4 separate regions of the Homo sapiens genome follow, and regions 1, 3 and 4 are each linked to region 2. Evidence: promoter capture Hi-C in 16 types of primary human blood cells and fetal thymus (Javierre and others, 2016). All regions are on one chromosome and are shown on one strand. Each heading gives the region's core, a stretch centred on a gene start or on the middle of the fragment in contact. The rest is flanking DNA. Distances are from core to core; before and after follow the strand shown.

Region 1 (2,931 bases), core at 393-2,892, 260 kb after region 2:
TATCCCCAAGCCCCGGAAAGTTGCATTGAGTCCAGGTTGTGAAAAGTCTTAAATACCAGGACCATGGTCTTGAGGCAAAGGTGAGTGAAAGGTAGGGATCTGCCCTGGAAGACGACTTTCAAGTATAAGGAAAAATAAATAGCCAGCTTCCTTTTGAAGGAAAGTAGCAGAAAAAAGGTGGAAAGTTCCTTTACACAAATTATTAGAAAACTGAAAATGAAACCTAAGTTCAAAATTAATCTTGGTGTTTGAAAACTAACACAGTTTTTAATACTCCTTGGGTTAAATAAGAAATCTAATTTAAAAATTTTTAAGTATTTTGAACTGAATTAAAATCAATACACAACCTATAAAACAGATGTTGGCAATTAAGACTTTCCCTGTGCATACGTGAAACAGATAAGCGTTTTGGGAGTGAGAAAAAAACGGCTCATAATAAAACTGATGGTTTGCAATTTTCAGAAAATAAAATTATGCTTCTGTGTACTGGAGTCTACAGGCTAATTAAGGCAGGCAGTGATTAACACTTTATGGTGTCTGTTCTCAGGGCCTCACCCACCTTCCCAGGCATCTTTCCTTTCTATTGACCCTTTCACCAGACTGAGTCCCTCATCACCCTTGTTTACAGAAGATACGTACTCAAGAACTTTGATCTTTCATCTTTTGAAATATTTTTGCATTTCTTTGAAATGCATCTACCTTGATTATCCATTGCTTGGGAGACTCTAGAACAAAATTTAAATTTCCTTAATCTTCAGACACACTCAGAGCATCAGAACCTTTATGGCCTCCCCTATTTCTAAAACAAATAAGCCAGTGGCCATTTGTTCAATACACCCTGGAAAAGGGCAGCTAGCCAGCTTCCAGTCTATGCTAACAAAGATGCTAATTTGACCGCATTCCTAAGATGAATGAATTCACCACGAGGGCCCTTGAAGCAGCAAGTGTGTTTCAGCTGGCACTACAACATAGCATCTCCAGGACGAAAGGGACTTCAGGGTCCTCTAGTCTAGTACCCATTTGCATTAAATCCCTTCGATGACCTTCCTCCAACTAGTCATCTAGTCCACCATTTTCCAGGAGAGCTTACACCATCAGTTCCTGTGGCTTACAAACAGCTTCCCAGGCTTTGTGCAAGACACTGGTATCCAGAAAATTAACAGCAGCTAGCTCAGCCTTAAGGCACTCACATTATAGAGAATTTTTAGAAAGTCTTCACAAATCTACCTTCGTGTTACCTCTCCCTATAGCTTTTGTTGGGTCATTCATTCATTCATTCAACAAATAGCTATGAAGTACCTACTCTGTGCCAACCAGGGGCTGAGCTGGAGGCTAGTAATACATTGGCAAGTAAGTCAGAGAGTTGGCCCTTTAGTTCATTTACTCTCCAGTTCTCCCCCATGGTGTCCCATACAGGATAAATCTAATCATTCTGCCATATTCTCAGCTCTTTGTGGCAGATGTGAGATTTCTTACTCCTGGTTCTGCATTCAGCATGGTTCAAAGTCCCCTTGCCATCCCAGGAATGTTTCCCTGGACATGCTCCATGATGTAACAGTTACTATCACTCTTAAGTGCGGGCTGTACAGTGGGATTTCTGATTAGTTTAGATTGAAAGGCTGCCAGTAGATGGCCAGAAAACCTTCTTGCCCAGGACTTTTGTGTAAACCATGCTGGAGCCACTGGCTATTCAGCCATGACAACCAGCCAGCCACCAGTTGGTCCCATATACAGTCAATGAGACGCATGGGGACCCTTCTCTGTAACTCTATACAGATGTGGGTGATATTCTCCAAGGCATGATTTGCCTTATCCTGGTGACTTACTCTGAATGTCTGATATTCCTGAACTCCTGTTATACCAAAGCCCTTCTCAAGGGGATGGGGGATGCAGAGATGAAAAGGAGAAATTTCCACCCTCAAAAAGCTGAGAGCAGAAAAAGAGGTCACGTAACTCAGTGGAGGGAGAAGTGACTGGAGCTTAGAGATATAGAGGGGCCATCAAAGACACTTTGTCTGGAACTTAAGATTGGGAAGACTTGGATGGGCAGGAAAGATGGGAGACAGTTTTCCAGAAAAAGAGGATGAACAGGCCAGGCGCAGTGGCTCGCGCCTGTAATCCTAGCACTTTGGGAAGCCGAGGCAAGCGGATCACGAGATCAAGGATCGAGACCATCCTGGCCAACATGGTGAAACCCCATCTCTACTAAAAATACAAAAATTTGCTGGGTGTGGTGGCACACGCCTGTAGTCCCAGATACTCGGGAGGTTGAGGCAGGAGAATTGCTTGAACCTGGGAGGTGGAGGTTGCAGTGAGCCGAGATCGAGCCACTGTGCTCCAGCCTGGGTGACAAAAAAAAAAAGAGGATGAACACAAGAAAACACTCAGAAGCAGAAGTGGGCTCAAGAGAACTGGGTACAACTTCAGAAATGCAACAGCCAACAACAGGCCTGTCCCAAGTACTGGACCCCCAAAGAAATGAGTTTGAATGACACAAAATGTCAACCCAAAGAGCCAAATTGCATTTCTGAAGCCTGTAAGAGTGAAGTTTGTACTCCTCTATGCTAAAAATATTGTCTGCTTCTATTTTCATAACATCTCCACCAGTGGTCAAACTTTAACCAGCATCAGAATCACCCAGAGGGCTTGCAAAAAATGCAGGTTTTCAGGCCCCACACCACAGTTTCTGATTCAAGCGGTCTGGGGTCAGGCCAGGGAGTCTGCATTTCTAACAAGTTCCCACATGACACTGATGCTGCTGGTCTGGGGACCACCCTTGGAAGACGGAATCACTGCTCCATAGCAATAGACAAGTTTTGTGGTGACTTCATCCTAGGTGAATGAAGCACCAGGTCACAAAACAGGATTTGATGAATTCAAGAGGAGCCAGTGTTTGGATTACTGTACTTCAAATCAGTTAGCATGCAGTTT
Region 2 (2,926 bases), core at 112-2,611:
GATTTCACTATGTTGCCCACACTGGTCTCGAATTCCTGGCCTCAAGTGTTCCACCCACTCAGCCTCCCAAAGTGCTGGGATTGCAAATGTGAGCCACCACGCTCGGCCAGAAACTGTATCCATTAAGAGCCTATACTGCATTATGTACCAGGCCCTGTGGTGAGTATATTACATGGGTTATGTCTCTTAACATTTAAAGAATGTAATGCATTATCTCTATTCACAGAGAAAGAAAACTGAGGCCTGAGGAGGTTAAAAAACTTGCCCCATGCCACGCAACAAATACCTAGGGGAGTCGTGATTCCAATGCAGGGAACATGAATCAAGAGCCCAGGCTCTTAAACATGCTCTCCTGCATTTGAAGAGAGATGGCCCTTGATGTGAACTGACAGGTAAAGACACACACACACACACACACACACGCACAATGAGATCACTAACAAATCAGAAGATTTCAATATTAGGGAAGTGGCTGTTTATTAATACATGAAAACAATATTATATGAGATCATCACAGTTAGTGTCCCCTTCGAATGAAGACACTGCTCATCTAAAAATAACTGCATTGGGGCCTGGCATAACATATTTTAATGAATGTGATTGTCTGTCATTTCCTAGAAGAGCTGAATGTCCACTCTGAATGCCACATGAGACAAACTGGCAGGGAAGTGTTCATTTTTCCAGTGACTGGCTGGCTACAGTGCATTTTAAATGACTAATGAAGACATTCATAGTATGACAAATATCACAAGGAGACATTAGCAGCAAGAGGAGGCACAGCACAAGGGGCGGGGGCAGGTGGAGATGACACAGGTTGGGCGATAGCAAGTGGTGTGGCAGGAGACTCGGCCACAGACTGGACGCACGCAGCAGCAGGGGCGGCAGCAGCTGGATTCACAGCAAGAGGGGTGGCAGCAGCTGGAGATGCAGCAGCTGGGACGGCAGCAAGTGGGCTGGCAGCACACAGACTGGCAGCACTGGGGTCTGCAGCAGCTGGACACACAGCAGCTGGGGCAGCAGCAGGTGGTCCTGCAGCAGGTGGTCCTGCAGCAGGTGGTCTGGCAGCAGCAGGGGCGGCAGCAGCTGGATTCACAGCAATAGGGGCGGCAGCAGCTGGAGATGCAGCAGCTAGGGTGGCAGCAGGTGGGCTGGTAGCACACAGACTGGCAGCACTGGGGCTTGCAGCAGCTGGGGCGGCAGCAGGTGGTCCTGCAGCAGGTGGTCTGGCAGCAGCTGGGGCGGCAGCAGTTCTCCAGGCCACAGCTCTGCTCAGAGCTGACAGAGCCACAACAGGAGCTGACCATGGTGTCAGAGGGTGGAGGTTCTGGGTGGATTTCTAGAAGAATGAGGTTCTCAAGTTTGGAAGTGTCCTTGGGCCACAGCCTCTTATATACTGCCCAGCTGTCTTGTTGGTACTACATTTTCCTTGTTTTTGTTTACTTAATAACTAAGTGATTATCAGATTACACAATAATGTTTGCCCATTTAATGGTTTAAACTTGTTGAAAACAAAATTTTCTTGTCCGGATGTAATAAGATCTATCATGTCTGCCTTCTCTCATGATTCACACCTCGGTAGCATCTTCTAGACCACGTTCTCTTCCTCTTCCTCCACAGAGGGCTGTTCATGTGATTCCCTGCATTTGGAATTGCATTTCTTACTCTCGCTTCAGGTACCCTCTACCAAAATGGGATTTGGTCAGTCACACTTCCAGTTATGCATTCCCTCTAGTGACCAATAGCGAGGAAAACCCATCTGCTCAGTGTGGCATTCCTAGTCTGTGGGTCATTATTAAGCAATAAGCAAAGGGATAGCAATACCTGCATGTGGCCTTGGTGACCTCTACACTATTGAAATGGGTTTCCCTGAATGTTTCAAATTTTGGGTCATATTCCATATCCTTAAATTTTTATACTTGGTGTTACTAATGGGTCAGTTTCTTAAATTGATACTTTGCTCTCCTATATTTTGTGTCATGTCTCTCCAGTTAATCTATTAGATTCCGGAAGACATAGTCCCATTTTTATTCCATAACTCATTGTTTTTTTTAAATGCCTCTAACTGTCTGTTAACATAATGCAGGTGTGTGTTTTCACTTTTTAAAAAAGAAATTTGAGATAATTGTAGATTTACATACAGCTGTAACAAACAGTCCCAGGAGAGGCTGTCTGTACTTCACCCAGGCTCCCTAACACTGTGTAACACCTGTATAATACTTTTAAGAATCTATCTACCCCCACTACTGTGTCTTGCATGATGTGCTTAATATAGAAAGAACTCAAGCTCAGTGAAATTAAAAACAATTAGTTATTTTTCAGATTGACGTATAATATTGTATTTACCACATACAACATAATATTTTGAAGTATATATACATTGTGGAAGGATTAAATCTAGCTAATAAATGCATTACCTCTCATACCTATCATTTTTTTGTGGTGAGAACGCTTAATATCCATTCTTAGAATTTTTCAAGAATACAGTATGTACAATATATCATCATTAACTATAGTCACTATGCTATACAGTAGACCTCTTGAACTGATTCTTCCTGTCTAGCTACAATTATATGTCTTTTGACCAGTATCTCCTCAAGCCCCTGACTCCCTAGCCACCCCTAGCCTCTGATTATCTTCATTCTCTGCTCTACTTCTATGATATCAACTTTTTTGAGTGCGATCATGTGAGTGAGATCATGTGCTATCTGTCTTTCTATGACTGATTTACTTCACTTAGCATAATTTCCTTGAGATGTATCCATGTTGTCACAAATGACAGAACTTCCGTCTTTTTACGGCCAAATAGTATTGCACTGAGTATATACTGCATTTTCTTTATCCCCTTACTCATTGGTGGACACTTGCACTGTGTGCATATCTTGGCAATTGTGAATAGTGCTGCAATAAATCTGGACATGCAGTTATT
Region 3 (3,097 bases), core at 541-3,040, 280 kb before region 2:
TTGGTGCCAGTGTGCAGGTGCTCCCTGCAGAGGGATCTTCTGCAGCCCCTGCTGCTCCACCTTCCCTGGGAGCCCTTTCTCCTGAGAATGCTTCTTTCGCTGGCCTTTATCTCATTGGAGTTAGTCTCAATGGTTAGCACTTGTTTTGCCTTGTAGAGTACAGACTGACTCCTGAGGAATTCCAGACCTGTAGCCTAGATTCCCCGTAGTTTACTGCTGCCTCCTGTCCACCTGCATATCCAGATATTATCTCCCTGATTACAGCCTCCCCGAAGCTGAGGTTCTTCCATTGTGAAGAGTCCTGAGCCAGAACTAGCAGTGCCCACTGGGGATTAGGGGACAGATGCCGAGGGGTCACACCTGAAGCCCATGGCAAACCTCCATAAGGAATACCTGGGATCAATTCTGGCAAATGGAAGGACTGTTTTGACTTTTTATTAAAAAAAAAAAAAAAAGCCACTTTCCCAGGGACACAAATGATGAACCCGTGGTGAAATCCAATTACAACTTCCTTTTATATTATTACATAAGGGACAAATGTGAAGGGACATATTTCTCCCCAACCTAAACTCGTCACAAAGAGCAAGCAAGTGGGATTTCTAAATAAAGGGGGTTTAAGCAAGAGATTTGCAGAAATCACACATTTGCTATAGATGTGGAAAGAATGTAGCAACCTAAGGCAGTCTCAGCTTGAGAGAAGCCATGATCCATTTGTTTAATTTCTTGAGAGAATGAAAATCTGGTCAGTGGAAATGCCAGTGATTTTAGCCCCATATGGAGGTTTTTACCAAGGATTCCTTAAATCTATATTATAAGCATTTTGACTGAGCTGGTCTTGTTTGAATTATCAGTTATTATGTACTTACTACTTTTTGGACACTGGGCCAGCTGAATTACAGACATTATTTTTTAACCTTCACGGCAAGCTCTTAAAGTGGTACTGGTTTTATTTGTTTGTTTGTTTGAAACAAGGTCTTGCTTGGTTGCCCTCACTCCGGCTGGAGTGCAGTGGTGTGATCATAGCTCTCTGAAACCTTGAACTCCTGAGCTTAAGCAATCCTCCTGCCTCAGCCTCCCAAGTAGCTAGGACTACAGGTGGGCACCACAACACTGGCTATTTTTTTTTTTTTAATTTTTTTGTAGAGATGGAGTCTTGTTATATCGCGTAAGCTGGTCTTGAACTTTAGGCCTCAAGTGATCCTTCTGCCTTGGCCTCCCAAAGCACTGGGATTACGGGCATGAGCCACCTCAAGGCGCCCAGCTTCAGGTGGTACTTTTATCCTATTTTACAGATGAGCAATCTGAGAGTCCAGATGTTAAGTGATTTATTTACGCCCATGCAGCTGGGAGGAGGCAGAGATAGGATTCGGGCCTGCAGTGCCTTCTATAGATACCACAACCTTGCTGCTGGCGGTGACAATAAAAAGGGCAGAGGATACTCTGACATCCCCTAGCTATGACACCTGACACTAGGCTTCTGCCCTGCACATCTAACAGGAGGTGCTCTTTTTTTTTTCTTTTCTTTTAAGCTTTCTCCTTGAATTTCTCAGTGTATGGGCTGAGACCTAGAGAATGACTTTTCATGGCTTATAAGCAACAACATGACACATGAAATTCTGTAAACACACAGGCAAATGCGGTTTTCATTTTAGCTTTGACCTGTAACTACATCTCCAGAGATCTTATAAAGCACAAGTTAAACTTGCACTCCCCACACAAGAACTTGATGTTATGGTTGTTAACTATTATTCACTCCCAAGTGTCCCCCAAGACAGAGAGATTCCATTTTACTGCCATAGAAATGAAAACAGAAGCAAATAAAATGTCAAAAGAAATGTGCCAAGTTCAAAATTGTACCTCAGTGATTTGATCACATAATACGGGAATATGATTAAGTTGAATTTTTGAACTTGGAATTGATTTTGTGCTGAAAGGTACACTTTCCAACTCTAATGCCTATGGTAAAATTTAAATAATATTGCTCAATCTCTAAAAATTATGTTTATATATTATTTGTTTATGTTTCTATACATATAACATATTATCCTAGACTAAGCTTGTTAGGTAGGTACTACATCTAATTTATTTTTTATCCTGAGTCCTAGCCTAGTGTTTCGCTGAACTTTATCACTGCACTCCTTGAATGATTTCATTTGAAAGAAGTTAAGTCTTAATGTGTTTGAATGTGTCATTTGAAATTCATTTCATTTGAAAATGACTGTGCCCTAATTTACTGGTATGCTTTGACCAATATTTATTCTGAATTCAGTTATGAATGGGGAGCAACTTCAGAAGTTGAAAAGGGAAATATTTCTTCTTCAGTGGCTTTTTTTTTTTTAAGTGGGAGGCTAAGTTAAATAATCAAGACTCTGCTTTAGAGGTTTTAGAAGTGAAAATAATTTTCTTTGACAGCCACATTAATGTATAAGGCAGTGGTGATGTAAAAAACAATAAACAATCTTGGGCTTGTTGGCAGAGTGATTGCATAAGTTGAGGCAGAGAGGAAAATGATTATAGCCAGGGCAAACTGTTCAAAAGAATTATATCTTCCATTTTTGTAGAGTTTAGGAAATGTTCAAAATAGAGAAAATTAGTTATGTGGTTTTTACAAGTCTTTAGATTTTTATTGAGTAAATCATACCCTCATCTTTTCATGTCAGGTTGGTTTCTGTCCTGGTCTTTGCAGGGTTTTCTACCTGAGTTTTTTCCCGTAAGACAGACCTGTCATTTTCTGCAACTCGCTGATCCCTTGATCTGTAACATCTTTCACTTTGGATAACATTATAAAATCCTGTGAGTGACTGAGAGAATTTTGGGTTGCCTACATTTTATGTATTGTGCTTTTGAGATGAGGGTTAAACAAGGACCCTAAGGGGTATGAGTGAGATTGACTTCTGGGCTCCAGAGATCAATGGTTCTTGAAAGCAGGGGAGAATTTTGAAAGTGGTAGGAGACAGGAAGATGATAAAATAATACCCTGATGAGAGGAATCTTGGAAATGAGCCTAGGGGAGAGAAAACAGAGATGTTTGAAAGAGAATTCAAAAATAAAAATCACTACTAATGCTTTAAGTTGGAATTGTTACTTGGGGGTCTAA
Region 4 (3,071 bases), core at 490-2,989, 310 kb after region 2:
ACAGCACATTAGCAGCAGAACTGGGGGTCTAGCCCAGTTTTTCTGAAGCCAAAGGCACTGATCTTCTCCATTAATCCTAGATGCTCATTGGTGACTTTGTTTACATATTATGATTAAGGGACACTGCTATTTAAATACAAATTTGTCTTGATCAGTTGGGCAAAAAGATAGACATCAAATGATCTTAGGAACTTTCTGTTTAGCCGAATTGATATCATTGCATTCAAGTGTTACATTTTATGAAATACAGGCCGGGTGCAGTGGCTCACGCCTGTAATCCCAGCAGTTTGGAAGGCCAAGGTGGGTGAATCACCTGAGGTCAAGAGTTCGAGACCAGCCTGGCCAACATGGTGAAACCCCATTTCTACTAAAAATACAAAAATTAGCCAGGCATGGTGGCATGTGCCTGTGGTCCTAGCTACTCAGGAGGCTGAGGCACAAGAATCACTTGAACCCAGGAGGCAGAGGTTGCAGTGAGCCAAGATCATGCCACTGCACTCCAGCCTGGGCTACGGGGCGAGACTCTCTCTCCAAAAGAAAAAAAAATTATGAAATACAAAAAGAATATTGTTTTATTATTAATGATTTTCCTGGTTATACCCTGGAAGAGGCATATTCTTTTTTTGATCACTCTCTAAAAGGTTTCCTAATATAGTGGTGAAGAAAGATTCAGTCAGTGCAATTCAGAGTCCACACACAGCCCCAACTCCCAGATGCCAAACCCAACTCCTGGATCTTTCGGGAAGCTGTCGCCCTCTGGCCAGTCTTCCTTGAATGGCAGTTCTGCCCATGGGCCCTCACTCTCACCCCCAGAAGAGGGTGCTTTGCACTAGGGCAGTGAGCAGCAGGGGTGAGGCCCAAACTCTTGAATAGCCTTGGGGAAAGTGGTGTCTTTAAAAAGCACACCCTTTTCTTTTCCAATCCCGCTCAGAGAGGATCCCTGATACCTGTGAGGGTTTCTCCAAAACATCAAATATGACAGAGGTTTTATGACTTGACCAGGGTCCTGCCTACATTTCCCTATAAACTCTTCCCCTATAAAGAGTTAATTAGATGCAAATGCTTTGATATGAGGAGAGAGTTCCTCTGAGAATCTCCATGAGTGGTACACTGAGTCCAGTTCCCAGGAGATTCCGGTGCTGGTGGGGGATAAATATCTCCCAAAGTCTATGCCCACGGCTTCTTCATCCATCAAATAAGAGACAGGCTAGGCAGGAGGGTAGCTCGTGACACCTCTGGCTTGAAGTACCATCCAGACACAGAAGATGATGGGCCTCACTTCTAGCAGAGGAGGGTACTCCTGGCCCTGGGCTGTGGGGCTTGGTTTCATATAAAAAGCTTTAACAGTCATCTTGGGAGTCAGACAGGTCTTGGCAAGTGGGAGAGACACACAGGTGTGGGAATGGGGACCGAGTTGGACTGAAACAATATGCACTGGGGAAACGGAGACTCTGGAAGTCCCCAGGGGGTCCAGGGTCCAGGACTTCTGGCCCACAACTCCTGTGCAATCATTCCTGCTGAGGCTCTGGGCTGCAGCTCAAGGTCTTTGCTCTTACTGAGCCCAGTGCTCAAAGAAAGAGGAGATGCTGAGTCTGGTAGTTGCTAGCGATGCTTTTTAAGAGAACTATATTCCCAGGAAGAAGTTTCAGCTTCTCAGAGAAAATGTCTCCCTTCTTTGGGAAATGAAAGAAAAGGAGAGGGGAAATATGTATTAGCCTGAAATAATAATAAACCTAGGGTGCTTGGAGAAAGCATAAAGTGCTTGGAGAGACCTAAGAGGCTTGGCGTCAAAACCCTTGGCTTCAATTTCCACCTGTTGGTTGTGTCTGTGAGCACATCTGTCCACCTCCCTGGGTCTGAGATGACTCTTCTGTAAAACTGGGAAAGCTGAGCCAGATCATCTGGAAGGCTCCTTCTAGTTCTGACAGTCTAAGACAGCTCTGTCCAGTAGAACTTTCTGCAGTGTTGGAAATAGTCCATGTCTGTGTTGTCTTATTTACTACCACTTAGCCACGTGTGACGAGTGCAACTCAGTGCAATTCAGTATATGAAACATTCATATACCGAATGTTTCAGTATATGCAGCCACATGTCGTTATGAACTACCATATTGGACAGAACAGGTCTAGGATTATAGAACCAAAGCTTTGGTCTGTTCTGTGTGTTGTTTATCAAGCTGAGCACATTCCAGAAAAGTTTTGCACCGGGGTTGAAATTAAAGATTGCTGGTTTGCACGCAGTTATGAGAAAATTCAATTAGCCAGAACCCCTCTCTCTTGGCATTTCAGCTCCTTGAAATTTTACCCATCCATCAACCAGGAACCACAGCTTGCTAAGCAGTATGTTCATGTCCCTGCTGTCAGGCTAATGACCTTGTCTGCCAGGGATGCCTGCAGGATCATGTCTGGAGAGCAGCCTGCAGGCAGCTTCAGGATCCAATCCATTTTTCATCATTTCTTGGCAAGGCCAGAGGGAGGATACTTAATAGAAACATCATCTCAGCTCATTAAGGAAGAACTGTGTGTTTGGAGGGTGAGGTTCAGAAAGGTGTTCAAGATTCCTGTCCCCAGCTCTCTCCTCTTTACCTGCCATGGCCAATCCATTGCCAAGTCAGGTCCATCACAGTGTCTCTTAGATTGATTCCTTATTTTTCCATGGTCCCTGACATTGTCTTGCCTGAGACCCTGTTAGCTTCTTCCACAGCCTAACCCCTCCTCTTAGCTATCCTGTCTGTGTTACTTGGTGATACTTTCTAAGATGCCACTCAAGTCATGTCATCTTTGGGCTCAAATCCTGCAGCAGCCCTCCCATTGCCTTCAGGATAGAGTCCAGAATCCAGGCTTTTTGTGGGGTACCCAAGGCCCCCCTACTCTCTGATGCCTTTCTACCATTTGAGCTTCATCCCCATCAGCCTCTCACAGGAACTCACTGCTCCAGCCAGCAAGACCCCTTGAGGCCTTCCAAGCATGACCCCCTGCTCTCCTGAAGATCCCCACACACTTACTTGCCTATCTGGTGCCCTGTAGACCTTCTATTCAACCTCCAAGACCTATTTCAAACGCCACCAGCTA

What was found. Contacts are between HindIII fragments. The CHiCAGO score rates a contact against its expected background, and 5 or more counts as called.
Region 1: a fragment that was not itself captured here is called in contact with the fragment with the promoter of KRTAP4-5 in region 2 in 4 of 17 cell types (total CD4 T cells, total CD8 T cells, naive CD8 T cells and 1 more); the score reaches 5.9 in total CD4 T cells.
Region 3: a contact is called between a fragment that was not itself captured here and the fragment with the promoter of KRTAP4-5 in region 2, in 1 of 17 cell types (endothelial precursors). The highest score is 6.2, in endothelial precursors.
Region 4: a contact is called between a fragment that was not itself captured here and the fragment with the promoter of KRTAP4-5 in region 2, in 2 of 17 cell types (total CD4 T cells and naive CD4 T cells). The highest score is 7.4, in total CD4 T cells.

Annotation. Positions count from the first base shown.
Region 1 is chr17:41,412,629-41,415,559 of GRCh38, forward strand. No RefSeq gene overlaps it. Among named protein-coding and RNA genes, the nearest start is that of KRT37, 10 kb to the right of the region's middle. The HindIII fragment of the contact is 7,068 bases long and covers 1-2,931 here.
Region 2 is chr17:41,148,464-41,151,389 of GRCh38, forward strand. KRTAP4-5 (keratin associated protein 4-5) reads right to left here and starts at 1,362. Exons shown (of 1, transcript NM_033188.4): 1 at 461-1,362. The coding sequence starts at 1,304. The coding sequence ends at 759. The HindIII fragment of the contact is 5,677 bases long and covers 1-2,926 here.
Region 3 is chr17:40,870,185-40,873,281 of GRCh38, forward strand. All of the region lies in intron 1 of LOC105371777 (a long non-coding RNA gene), which reads left to right. Among named protein-coding and RNA genes, the nearest start is that of KRT12, 4.5 kb to the left of the region's middle. The HindIII fragment of the contact is 527 bases long and covers 1,528-2,054 here.
Region 4 is chr17:41,455,644-41,458,714 of GRCh38, forward strand. No RefSeq gene overlaps it. Among named protein-coding and RNA genes, the nearest start is that of KRT32, 10 kb to the right of the region's middle. The HindIII fragment of the contact is 807 bases long and covers 1,337-2,143 here.